Regions from separate parts of the Homo sapiens genome. Here all the other regions are linked to region 3. Evidence: promoter capture Hi-C in 16 types of primary human blood cells and fetal thymus (Javierre and others, 2016). All regions are on one chromosome and are shown on one strand. The core of a region is centred on a gene start or on the middle of the fragment in contact, and the rest is flanking DNA. Distances in the headings are between cores, read along the strand shown.

Region 1 (4,540 bases), core at 1,077-3,576, 780 kb after region 3:
TATTCATATGTGGGAGCTAAAAAAAGTGGATCTCATGATGATAGGGAGTGGATTGGTGTTTAGCAGATGTTGGGAAGACAAGCAGGGAGGGAAAATGAAGAGAGGTTGATTAATGGGTACAAATATACAGTTTGATAGAAGAAATAAGACCCAGTGCTTGATACATCAGAGAGGTGACTATACAATAATATATTCTTTATTTCAAAATAGTGAGAAAAGAATAATTCAAATGTTTCTAGCATAAATAAATGTTTAAGGTAATGGATATCCCAATTGCACCAATTTGATCTTCAAAGCTTATTTGAATATATGAAGTTATCACACACACAAAGCATCAGTAAAAAATAAGATTAGAAAACAAAAAATAAATATAGTGTAGGTTTTGAAAGCATAAAGTGTAATAAAGAGAGGGAAAAGAGATTAATTGGACATTTGATTTGAAACCAAGGCAACAGTCAGACTGCTGGCGACCTTGAACATTAAACTCAAGAATTAGGACTTAATTTTGTCAAGGAATTCTCAAATCTAACTGTGCTACAAAATTTTCTAGGGACTGTCAAATGCCATTTCCGCAAATATCATCAATACAAACTGTTGATGAGATAGGGAAAACACCATTTCAGCAGAGATTTGGCAGTATCTCAGAAAGCAAGGTTAGAATTTATTGAGAATTTAAGTTTCATTTAAGCCACTTCCCTCCGTGGAGAGAGTGGGGAGGTCTTGATTTGAAAAGGGCAAAAATCACAACATGGAAGTTTAAGATTGGTGGGAAAAGCAAGGCAAGGCAAGAGATTCAAAGGTAAAAACTGTTGATACTTTTCATTGAAGAGTTGATGGATATTTTGGGAAATTCCTATAATGAATAATCGAGCCATTTTTCCATGTAACGGTCACTGGAATGGTAAAGTTATGCTAGTGAAGACAGTGTTATAGTAATGTCACGTTGATGTAGAAGCTCTGTAGGGCGTAGATAGTTTTAGTTCTCAGAACTCGTCTTCTAAAGTTCCATACATTGAAACCCAAAACCTCTATTTTTAACAGGCTTAATTGGGAGCCAATGCTATAAACAACGAGCCACTGCAGGTTTTTGTCTCAGAGTTTGCCATGATCCCAGCTGTCCTTCAGGAGATGGGAATACTTGTTGGAAGGTTGCAGAAATTACCTAGAGAACATATAACGATGGTATGAATTATGAGTCTCGAGGACATGGTTAATTTAGTGATGCTAGTCATGGCTTTTCTCTGTCTCTGTCTCTGTCTCTCCCTGCTAGTTCTCTGCATCTCTTTCATGAGTCTGGGTCTTCTCCACGCTAAATACTGAGAGTATATATATCCATTGTCAAGTGAGGCAGACCCATGAGAAATCCTTAAGAAAAAGTATCTCAAGAAAGACAGGAAGACTGCAGGAAGCAAGGGATTGCCAGGTGCCTAGTAGTTTCTTTAAACCTACAAGTTTATTGTTCAGGTGATCTTCTCCTGTGTATGTTGGGGTAGAGATGAGGTGCACAAGGAGAGAATAGAAGTTATTTGGAGATTTAACTCAGAATTGCCCTCAGATTGAATCGAGGATGAGAAAGGTCTCAAGACCCTATATGGGATTGAGAACTAAAATTTAAACCTTAAGCACCCACCCCAACCAATTGAACAGACTCTCTCTTGGCCAAGGAGACCTCAGAGAAACCTTAAAAATGGAGTTCCTGGCCATAAGGAGACAAGAGATCACACAAGCCTCGTTATATCCTCTCCCTTTTGTATACAGACACACCAACTGACCAGCATGAATGTTAAAATAGAGATCATATGACTGACAGAACAGACTCTTTGTGGCAGTAAGATATCCAATTATAAACAGGACCTACGCCCATGTCAGGCAAAGGTTAAGTCACGCACCCCTACACTTAAAGAATAAACTTTGTTTTAACTGCCACAAGGTTTTTCTTTCTTAAGCAGCTCAACAAGCACTGGCCTCAAGGAAAGCAATATTAAAATAACTGCAGCTCATTCACCACCATGTGCTGACTAACCGACCTCCTGTTCCACAAGCCATAACTACAGCTTTGATTAGACAAGAAAGAGATTTCAGTAACTTTCCTGGTAAAAGACCACCGACTATGGACTGGTTCTGGTCGGTTTTATAGAGGCTTTGCACTTGAGAACATTTATGTCCCTGTTTTATCTTCTGAAATATAGACAGCCTCATTGTAATAAATTTAAATGTTAAGTACCCTCTCCAATATGAACATAGATCATTTGTAGCATGCATGTTTATTCAGTATGCATGCATCAGAAACCACTTGGTGAATATTCATAGCTTCTCCTGTAACCTGTTGAATATGTATATTTAGCCAACCTATGTAGCATAAAGCTCCTGCCTCAACCCCTCCTTCTTCAAAGTACTGCCTTTCGGTCTCTGTTGAAGGTACACTTCTCAGCCTGTCAGGATGACCATTGGCAGGCTATAACCCTTTATGAGAAATAAAGTCCTGTGTCCAAATCTGCATAGATCTCATGATTTTTCTGTTGGCAAAATTCAGGATCCCTGGGCTACCCCTGACATTAAATTATAAGCCCACTAGACTAAAAGTCCCTCAGACCCCTCAGCCTATCTGTCCCTTAATTAGTATAATCATGGTTAAGTTACTTTTTGTGCCTCTCCTCCTCACATTCACAGATGTTTACAGGAAAAAAAAAAAAAAAGTCAAGGAGATTAAGTCACTTGCCCAGGGTCTGAGAGCCACTAAGCGCAGAGCCATATCTCGAGTCCAGTTCTGTTGAACTCCAATAAACATCTCCTTTCTATTTCCTTCATTTTCTATTATTGCCTCTTCTCCTTTCACAGGGCTCTGATTGTAAAAATATATAGGCAGATAACACTGCAGTTGATAACATTACACTTCTATTGAAAGAAGTTTTTCTTCCTTTGCGATATTATTTCAGATCACTTTGCATCCTCATTTATTCATTCATGGATTCCTTCCCAGCCATCCGTGGAGAGATATGTAGGGTGTGAAATGAGACTCCTACATGCAGGGCCAATATTTAGCCAGTAACCTCAGGAAGGTCATTTGCAGCCAATGTTAGTTCTGATTGGCTGGGGCTGCAACTTGCAGAGTAGTAAATATTTTGACTATTGCCCTTGACTATCTGCCAGAATAATTGTCTGCATTTGTATCCCCTATGGTGCTCAATTAGAATGCACACAGCCCAAGAGAGTGAGGCAGGGTAGGAGGCGGTCTGAGTCTGGAAATACAGGCAAGAGACACAGGGTCAGGGCCATCTCTGCTCCAATCTGTCTTTGTGTGACCTTGTGCACATCACTTCTTTTCTCTGGGAATCAGCTTCTCCATAGGCAAAAGTATATATGGCCTGGCACTATTATATTTTTGTAAAAGAAAGTAGTATGTGCCTATGTGCCTGGGTCCATGTGTGCACACATAGAAACATGTCTGGAAGGTGACACACCTCCTATTTACAGTGGTTATCTCTGGGAAGCACAGCTGGATGAAGAAGGTATTTTTTACCTTATATAACCTCTTTACACTTTTAATTTTCCATAACAAGCATGTGTTGTAATTTTTTTAAGTTAACAGCTAAAAAGTCCTGTTTGTTCCTGTTTTACAGGAAGTCACACTTCTTTTCTAAGGTCACATGAGGACTTGGCATCTGACTCTGAAGACTGTCTTGCCTGCATCGTCCTTACACTGCCTCTGAACAATTGGGGGATGTGAGTACTGGGCACCAAATGATGCCTCCTAATCTCCCAGCTCAGCAAATGCTGCCCAGGGCTGAAAACAAAACATCCTCAGAGAGTTTTCCTTGCCCTCCTCCTGTTGGTATCTTGTCCTTGTCAGCAAATGATTCACCACCATTCAGCCAAAGCATGATTATTTTCACTTGTATCTACAGCTATGAAATGCCCACAGACTGGTGCCAGGTTCTGGGAAAGAGATATAACCAAACATGCTGAATTCCCAGACTCCTTTGAATTTATAATGCCATGAAGCACTTGTTCCCAGGTCAGGAGGCTAGGGGACTGAGCAGCATGATTACTTATCCCTGTCCTGGGAAGAAACAAGAGGGAAAAAAGATTTGTTTCCCAGAAGACAGCCATCTCTCCAGCAAATAATCCAGTCCCAGGTTCCCTTATGATAAATCAATCACACTTTTTAATAAAAGAATGCAAACATAGAGATTGGAAAGAAGCATTACATTGAAAGAGCACTAGGCTTTGGATTCAGACAAACCTGGATGCAAACCCAGACCTTGAACAAGCCATTTAACCCACTTCCCTAAAAGAACACCTTATTTTGTGCCAGGCACTCTGCTGGGCATTTTATATCCAACAGCTCAAGCTTGAAGAGGTTATTATTGTTCTCATTCTGTAACAGATGAAGGAAGTGGGACTCAGGGAAGAAAGCCGTGAGAGTGGGAGGGCTCAGCTGATGAAATGACAAAACCCAGATTTCAATTCAGGTCTTGAGAAGCACCCATTCCTCTGGCCAGTGCTGCCTCTCCCCATACAGGGTGGAGAGAAAAGACTT
Region 2 (4,770 bases), core at 1,362-3,861, 750 kb after region 3:
CCGAGTGCGCACTCCTCCCAGTGCGCAGGCCAGTCGGAAGTCCTGCCGGGGAACCCTTTTTACTTGGCTGTCTCAGTAGGCTGGCAACCGGCACTCTGTCAGGGTCAGCTGGGAAATCTTCCAACTGTAGTGTTTTTTGGCAATGCTTTTCAGGTGATAGTTTCTGCGTAATTACCGGGAAAAAAAACCTATGGCAATTAATAACACCGGGATGTGTTACAGATCCCTCATCCTCCTAGCTATGAAATTTTTTGGGTTTATCTCATTTTAGCTACAGGGAGTCCATCTCGTCTTCTGTTGGGGTATATTTTAACTTAGCTAATAAGTGTTGCTTTTTATTAAAACTCAACTACTGGGAAACTGTGACCTCAGGACACTGTGGCCAGAACACTTGTGAATGAGAGAATGACAAGTGGGAGGTCCAACCTGTTCAAGGAAGAGTTCTCAAAGTGGGCACTGCAACAAAAACCAAGTCCATTCCTTAAAGGTGACTTCCTTGTTCCACAGGCATCTCTAATTGTAATAGATTTAAATGTTAAGTCTCCACCCCAAGGTGAACGTGGGACACGTGTATCATGAATGTGTGCTTATCATGCATACATGCAACCCTCCCTTTGCAAGGATTGCAAACACACAGAGAATGATAATGAGGTTTTTGATACTGAATTACTCAAGTGGGGAGGGGAAAGTGCCTGAAAATTATAGTTTGGGGTCACTATTCCCATCTTGTGCCTACTAAGGTTTCCGGTATATAATTACTCAATATTTATTAAGTGAAGAAATGAATTAGTCAAAATGCAGTGAAAAGTAAAATTATTTTAGTTTCATGAATTTTTTAAATTTTTCTATACAATTTATATATTTTGCAGATATGACAGTTACCTAGGGAATGTGGGAACTTTCTATAATATGCATGTTATATAAAGATTTTCTGGCCAGGTGCAGTGGCTCATGGACGTAATCCCAACACTTTGGGAGGCTAAGGTGGGTGGATCACTTGAGGTCAGGAGTTTGAGACCAGCTGGCCAATGTGGTGAAACCCTGTCTCTACTAAAAAATACAAAATTTAGCTGGGCATGGTGGTGCACTCCTGTGATCCCAGGTACTCAGGAAGCTAAGGCAAGAAAATCGCTTGAACCCGGAAGGTAGAGGTTGCAGTGAGCCAAGATTGTGCCACTGCACTCCAGCCTGGGCAACAGAGCTAGACTCCATCTAAAAAAAAAAAAATCTGTAATTAAAAAGAAATTAGAAACCAAAGCTGAATGAAAATCTTGAAATTATGAAAAAGCAAAATAAAACTACAATGCAATTACCTTTTTTTTCTCTCTTTTTAGATTGGTAAAGTGTGAATACATTTGAGGGCATCTGCTATAAAGGAGAGTATGGAGAAATGGGCACTCCTCTAGGTTATTGCCAGGAATGCATGTTTGTACAGCCTTTGAGGGAAGGCAGTTTTAGAAGCCCTGTTTTCATGGGGAGAACTTTCGCTGAAGAGAAATGAAGCTTTTTAGATCAAGGACATTTCATCTGTGTCCACAGACTGCCTGGGCATTCGTTTAAATTCAAGGGCTCTCTAAAGTTGAAGAGAAGAAAAATCGTATCTTTATTTTTATTAACTTCCAACCATAATTTAGGATTTTCTTCAATTATAAATGTATGTACCAAACTACCAGAGATTTCCATTATCCCTGACTTCATCAAGATGGTAGTGAGAAAATTTCATATCTGATTATAGCTGAGAATAACTGAACTACCATTTACTCTTATAATATTGAAAGTATTTAATTTATGATTGTATAATGAACTCATTAAATATGAGACTTTGCAGCTAGATGCAGCTAGATATGATGTAATTAATTTAAGATATTCAGATAACTATATGTCAATATAATTTTGTTTCCTTCATATTCCTTGTGTTTTATTTCCCCCATTCATGACTCGTGATCCTGAGAATGGGGTAATAGGCCTCCCCAGACTGTCAAGCGGCCCACTGCACAAAAGCATTTAAAAGTTATGCTTTAGATGAAGAGGGGCTCAGTGGGCTACTGATGACCAGAGTTTAATTATACAGAGAAAGTCTAAGGAAGGAAAAATCTTAGCCATGGCGGGAGGTGAAGAGAAGAAAACCCAATGCAATCCTCCCACTAGATTTTTTTGTTTTTTAAGTAATTTGGAAGTCACAAATTTTGTTTTGAATTTAATTAGCACTGTTAGCTTAAAAATCACAAGTTTAGAAACTTAGAAAGGAGAGCTTTATTTCTTAAGGAATTTACAACCTGCAGGCAGGGAGCACAGCCTCTGGCTGAAATACCAAAAGCAAGCACTTCCAGGGAGAGAGGGATAAGACAGGAATCAATGCTGACTGGGTAGGCCGAGTATACATATTCAACAGGATACAGGGGGAGCTATAAATATTAACGAAAGTGAGTTGCATGCATACAAGGTAAGCAAACGTACATGATACATGCATCCCATGTTCACCTCGGGGTGGAGACTTAACATTTAAATCTATTACAATTAGGCCCTATTATTCAGAAGGTGAAGCAGGGACTGGAAGGTGCTAAAATGCACAGCCTCTGCAAGACCAGCCAGAACCAGCCTACGGGGTCAGTGGTGTCTTATCAGAAAAAAGCTATGGAAATCAGTCACTTGTTCAATCAAAGCTGTGGTTATGCAGGGTCAGTTTGTCGGCTTCTGGCATGAAGGAGCTACAATTGTTTCCATATTGCTTATCTTGAGGCCAGTGCTTGTTCAGCTGCTAGAGAAAAGGAAAAACCTTGTGACAGTTAGAACATAGATTTTTGTTTGTTTGGTTTTTTGTTTTTGTTTTGTTTTGTTTTGTTTTGTTTTGTTTTTAAGACGGAGTCTTACTCTGTTGCCCAGGCTGGAGTGCAGTGGCGCAATCTCGGCTCACTGCAACCTCTACGTCCCCAGTTCGAGCAATTCTCCTGCCTCAGCTTCCCAGTAGCTGGGATTACAGGCGCCCGCCACCACAACCAGCTAATTTTTGTATTTTTAGTAGAAACGGGGTTTCACTATGTTGGCCAGACTGGTGTTGAACTCCTGACCTCAGGTGATCTGCCTGCCTCGGCCTCCCAGAGTGCTGGGATTACAGGCATGAGCCACTATGCCTGGCCCATAGTTTATTCTTTAAGTGTAGGAGTGCTTGACTTCACCTTTGCCTGATATGTCCTTAGGTCCTGTTTATAATTTTGTATCTAATTGCCACAAAGAGTTTGTTTTGTCAGTCTTATGATCTCTATTTTAACATAAATGTTGATGGTTATTGTGTCTAAACCAGAAAAGGGAGCCCATAGAATGAGGTGTGCCTGACCTCTTGTCCCTGTCATGGCCAGGAACTCAAGTTTTTTTAAGGTTTCTCTGGGGTCCCCTTGCCAAGAAGGGGTCCATTCAGTTGGGTGGGGGGCTTAGCATTATATTTTTAATTCTTAGCTAATTTTTCAGCAATATGCTTATGGCTGTATTTCTCTAATTAACAAAAGAAAATAAGAGTATCTATGCACACTCCCACATGTAAAATAACAAACCCAGCAAAGTTTAGACCAATTTAATGTCAATCATTTTTTCCAATAACTGCAGTATGAGATTTTTGAACCCAGATTATTCCTGAAATTTTACTTTTACGTATCATTTTTGTCAATAATTACTTTTTGTCTTTCATTCTATTTTATCATATTTGAAACACGAAATTAAGCTTAATTCTCTATTTTATTGGTTTTAATATTTATCTCCTTAATAGTTTACCAACTCTTGATTTCTTTATTTTGATTCACTTCTCATTACACTGGAACATAACATTACTCAATTTTTCAGTTAGGGTGCACGGGTGATACACTTCCTGAATGTATACACCTGTAGGAAAGTCTTTGTGCAGACATCACACACGAACAGCAGCTTGGCTTGTAGCAATATTTTATATTGCATCCTTTTGAGGCAGGAGAATAGGGTCTGGAGGTAGGTAACCTAAGGCCGTTTCACGCTGACTTCCTAGAGCTAAATTGAAAGGAAAATCCTACCTGTCCACACCTAAGAAACAAAAGCACCAGAGGCTACTCCCTTTGCAAACCGCCACATTTTCTGCACTGCAAATTGGAAATTGAAAGTACCTCTGACTGGTTGCAAAAAGCAGAGAGGGGAAGGGGGGTGATATTACTCCCCATATCGCTGGGGGTGTCCAACCCCCCGTGATATGGTTCGTAATATCCAGGGGGTAGAGGGAGGTGATATTACTCCCCATATCGCGGGGGATGTCCACCTGCCTGTGATATGGTTCATAATATCCAGGGGGGACAGGGGGGTGATATTACTCCCCATATCGCGAGCGGTGTCTAACCCCCTGTGATATGGTTCGTAATATCCAGTGGGGGAGAGAGGAGGGTGATACTACTCCCCATATCGTGGGGGATGTCCACCCCCCTGTGATATGATTCATAATATCCAGCAGGGGAGAGGAGGGTGACATTACTCCCCATATTGCGGGCGGTGTCCACCTCCCTGTGATATGGTTCGTAATATCCAAGGGAGATATTACTCCAAATATCACATTGGATATACACCCTGTGATAATATTTGTAATATTTAGGGAGATATTACTTCTAATATCACTGTGGGTGTACACCTTGTGTGTACACACTGTGATATTGTTTGTAATGTACTAGGAAGATATTACTCTTAATATCACTGTGGGTGTACACCCTGTGATATTAGAAGTAATAGTCTAGAGAGATATTACTCCTAATGTCACAGTAA
Region 3 (4,796 bases), core at 1,295-3,794:
CTCAACTGATTGGAGGGTGCCCATCAACATTGAGTGAGGGTGGATCTTCCTTACTCAGTCCACTGGTTCAAAACATCCTCTGTCTTACAGACATACCCAGAAATAGTGCTTTACCAGCTATCTGGATATCTCTTAATCCAGTCCGGTTGACACCTAAAATTCACCATCACATCATCTTAATTATTTTTAAGTGTAAACGAGTAATATTAAATATATTCATATTGTCCCGTAACATATTTCCTTTGCTACTTTCTGATGTTCACTGAAACTTCTGCTATTTTGATCAAATTTGATTTTTTAAAGTAAGGGCATGAAGAGTTTATGGTTTTATCCAGATGGATTTAATAGGATGACTTTCTTCCTCATTCTCAGATTTCTTATAGACTAGGTTAATAAATACATTCTGAGTCCTCATTCTGCATTTTTCTGTCCAATGCAGACATTGTTAATTTATAATTTGTTCTTTTTTTATTTCAATAGCTTTAGGGGTACAAGTGGTTTTTGATTACATGGATGAATTCTATTAGTGATGAATTCTGAGATTTTAGCGTACCTGTCACTCAAACAGTGCACACTATACCCAATATGTAGTCTTTTATTCCTCATCCCACTTCCACCCTTCCCCCTGAGGCCCCAAAGTCCATATCACTCTGTATGTCTCTGTGTTCTCACAGCTTTGCTCCTACTTATAAGTGAGAACATACAGTATTTGGTTTTCCATTCCTGAGTTACTTCATGTAGAATAATGGCCTCCAGCTCCATCCAAACTGGTGCAAAAGAAATTATTGCTCTTTATTCTTAAGATTCTCAATCTTACTTTGTAGATAGTCATTATCACTATAATCAGAGTTGCCATGACAGATGAAATCTATCACTACCCTATCTTATCAGCCTTTTCTTTTTCTTTTTCTTTTTTTTTTTGAGACGGAGTCTCTCTCTGTCGTCCAGGCTGGAGTGCAGTGGCGCGATCTCGGCTCACTGCAAGCTCTGCCTCCCGGGTTCATGCCATTCTCCTGCCTCAGCCTCCTGAGTAGCTGGGACTACAGGTGCCCGCCACCACGCCTGGCTAATTTTTTTTTTGTTTGTATTTTTAGTAGAGACGGGGTTTCACCGTGTTAACTAGGATAGTCTCAATTTCCTGACCTCGTGATCTGCCCGCCTCGGCCTCCCAAAGTGCTGGGATTACAGGCATGAGCCACCGCGCCCGGCCCTTATCAGCCTTTTCTAATCCTAGAAAAATGTATCCTTCATAACTGTGAGATCTACCTTTTAAATTTCCCAGATCTTAACTCAGTATCAAACTCTTTCATAGTTAGTTGGGGTTTACTCTTTCAGCATCAGAATTTCCTAGGACAGTTTATCTTCAAACTTAGATAAGAATGTTTCTTTTGAGGATGGACTTCCTTGCCTTTTCATGTTCACAGTTGATTCTTGAAGACATTTACCTCCGTTTCTGTCAACAGTCTTAGTTGCTAAATTTCTTCCCTAAATTAAGCCTGTTACCTTGTAAGTCAAGAGTCTCAGTAATTATACCCCTTTATATAGAAGACATTTCTCTCATTTAATTTTTTTTCTTTTGAGACTGAGGATTGCTGACTTAGTCTCCATGAAATAGATGAATTCATTTTTTATAAACTTTATTTCTGAAGAAAACATTTAAAAAAACAGGAAATCAATGTTTTGAAACATCAGACTTTCAGGGCTGGAGGAATTCTTGGAGAGTGAGCCCAATTCACTCAGGCTGGAGGGGTTAATTGACTTGCCCACAGTGACTCATCCAGGTAGTGGCATTGCTGGTAGTAGCACCCAAAATATTAAAAAGAGAAAAGAAGAGCCCCATCAAGCCCTTCATCCCATCCAGCCTCATTAAAAAAAATAAAGAGAAAAGAAATCTTTTCATCGTGATGCAAATAAGTCACAATAAAAAGATAGAAAGGAAAGACATATTTTTGGCCATGACCCAAGAAACAGAGTTAATGACATCATTAGTTTACATTCATTGAGTGATTTCTGTTTGTTAGGCACTGTGCTAAGCCTTTCTTATTCACAGCTTATTTAATTATCACAACTCTGTTGAGGTAGGTATTCTTGTTACACCAGTTTTACAAATGAGGGAGTTGATAAGTTTAAGACATTAAACAACATTGAACATGTTTATATTGATAAAAGGGCAGAGCCAGAATTTAAACCCAATTCTCAGAGTTGGAAACATGTGTTTCTAACCAGTATATTTCAGCACAAGGCTTGGTGTGTTTATGTGTGATTTACTTCTGATGAAATTTCTTTTAAGCAAAAGGCATCTACTAACCCAGCAGGGAGTCTTCCTGGACTCAAATCAGGGAAAGCTCAGAGAAGAATAGGTAGGGGGATGGAAAGAGGCTCCCGTGATGAGCGGTTGGCTCTTTTCGCCACCACTCCAGGGAACAATTAGTGCTCAGAAATGTTTAGCTCTAATGATTGCTGGGCTTTTTATGTTGGACCCTGGAGTGAGTGGCAGAGGGCAGCCTCTTGGGGAAAGAATGTGGCTACCTCTGCCCATTAAAATAATGAACTCCCACAGCCCATTTATTTGGAAGACTTGTTAACAAAGGAGCGGAGATTCCAGAAGCATGGTTTACTATTTACATGAGGCCAAAGCATAAGAAATTGATGGAACGAGAAACCAGCCATGGAGCAGTGGGAAATGCAGATGATCTGGTTTGCAAAAGATGTTATGGCAACAAAGCAATCAATATTTCTTCTCTTGTAGCACAAGATTGCAGGACCCTTCTGCCCAATGCAATCCAGTAAGTCCAGCTCATTCCCTCCTACCTCATCCATTCAGCAGCAAATCACAACTATGCATTTACAGCCTATTCTACCTTTTATTTGTAAAATGGGGCGAGAAACGCTGCCACTTCTTGAGTCTATTAGGAGAATTAAATGGGTTTATAAAAATCAAGTCTTTCAAACAGTACCTCGCACACAATAAGTACTAAATAAGTGTTTGATTATATTATTATATTATGATCGTTATATGATTATTGTTTGTGATTAATTATATATTATGTGTTTTGTTCTTATAATAGTAACACACCAAATATAGTAAGTCATAGGCCAAACCCTTCTGGTAAACTCTGAGGATAAGTGGTGGAAAAAAATCTATTTATTCAGCAAAATATTTAGTGGGCACCTATGTCCCAGGCCCTGTTCTTTGTACTTATGATAAAACTGTCTTTGCAAAATTATAACTGAGGAAATTATGACAGTCAAAGAAATCATATCTACCTGACTCCATCTTGCTTCTAATCTTTAAGCTGTCTTTGTCCATTCTTGGGCATAAGCTGAAGTAACTTTGGGAAGGAATTCAGTTCATGGTTTGACTCTGAAACAAAATTAATAGCAGCTCTTTCCTGAAGAGACCCCCCTTTTGCCTAGGGACCAGTCTGTCTTTGCAGGACTAACAAATTAGCTGCAAGATTAGAAATTACTGTTTAGGGGTCATGCAGCCTCTGACTCCAAGAGTATAAACCTTCCCAAATTGGCCCCGGGGATAACATCACTACTGTAAAACCTAAGATCAGTGCTTGAGATATTTTGCAGACCCTGCACTAGATGGATCAGCTGACACCACCCAGACCCGTTAACTGGCTCAACCAGTTCTGCCATCCCACCCAGGAACAGAAGACAGCAAGAAAAACTCACTTCGACCCATTTGATTCCATCTCCAGCCTAACCAATCAGCATTCCCCACTTCCCAAGCCCCTACTCGCCAAATTATCTTTAAAAACTCTGATCCCTGATGCTCAGGGAGACTAATTTGAGTAATAATAAAACTCCAGTCCTCCTGCACAACCAGCTCTGCCTGAATTACTCTTTCTCCATTGCAATTCCCCTGTCTTGATAAATGAGCTCTGTCTAGGCAGTGGGCAAGGTGAACCCATTGGGTGGTTACAAGGATAGATCAGGAAACAGAATGGGCAAAACTCCCTGCCTGTCTTTGAGTAACTTACATTCTGGTAGGGAAGATTTCACCAAGATAAGAGATACCAAATTCCTCTTACTTCCTTTTTGATAGGATTAAATAGATTGATGTTTTAGTGAAGATCAATCTAGGCTCGTCTTGGTTTTGACTGCTTGACCAGTGATTTGAGGGGAGATTAGAAATTTGTAAAAAACACAAAGCTAGGAGCAGTTTTTAATATGATAAGTGACACAGAACCACAGTTACCATTGGGTGCAAACATGCATGGGCAAACAAATTCCATACAAATAATAAAATACAGCAACCTTAATTTCACCACTGAGTCTTTCTCAGGGCATTTCTGCCTCTTTATACGCATTTGTATTTCCTAATTTTTAAAAAAAATTTCCTTTTTTTTTTGAGACAGGGTCTCACTCTGTCATCCAGGCTTGAGTGCAGTGGCACAGTCATGGTCATGGCTCACTGCAGCCTAGACCTCCTGGGCTCAAGTGATCCCCCTCACCTCAGCCTTCCAAGTAGCTGGAACTACAGGCATGTGCCACCACACCCTGCTAAGTTTTGTATTATTATTATTGTTATTATTTTTTGAGACGGAGTCTCGCTCGGTCACCAGGTTGGAGTGCAGTGGCATGCGATCTCAGCTCACTGCAACCTCCGCCTCATGGGTTCAAGCGATTCTCCTGCCTCAGCCTCCCCAGTAACTGGAACTACAGGCACATGCCACCATGCCCAGCTAATTTTTGTATTTTTAGTAGAGACAGGGTTTTGCCATATTTTCCAGGCTGTTCTCAAATTCTTGAGCTCAAGCAATTGGGCTGCCTCCACCTCCCAA

The links. The method cuts DNA at HindIII sites, captures the fragments that hold promoters and counts their contacts. A CHiCAGO score of 5 or more calls a contact.
Region 1: a contact is called between a fragment that was not itself captured here and the fragment with the promoter of OR5A2 in region 3, in 2 of 17 cell types (total B cells and naive B cells). The highest score is 8.6, in total B cells.
Region 2: a fragment that was not itself captured here is called in contact with the fragment with the promoter of OR5A2 in region 3 in 1 of 17 cell types (naive B cells); the score reaches 5.9 in naive B cells.

Annotation. Positions count from the first base shown.
Region 1 is chr11:58,639,757-58,644,296 of GRCh38, reverse strand. No RefSeq gene overlaps it. Among named protein-coding and RNA genes, the nearest start is that of CNTF, 19 kb to the right of the region's middle. The HindIII fragment of the contact is 4,055 bases long and covers 299-4,353 here.
Region 2 is chr11:58,670,064-58,674,833 of GRCh38, reverse strand. No RefSeq gene overlaps it. Among named protein-coding and RNA genes, the nearest start is that of CNTF, 50 kb to the right of the region's middle. The HindIII fragment of the contact is 2,212 bases long and covers 1,506-3,717 here.
Region 3 is chr11:59,424,161-59,428,956 of GRCh38, reverse strand. It overlaps OR5A2 (olfactory receptor family 5 subfamily A member 2), which reads left to right and starts at 2,544. Exons shown (of 2, transcript NM_001001954.2): 1 at 2,544-2,786. The HindIII fragment of the contact is 12,260 bases long and covers 1-4,796 here.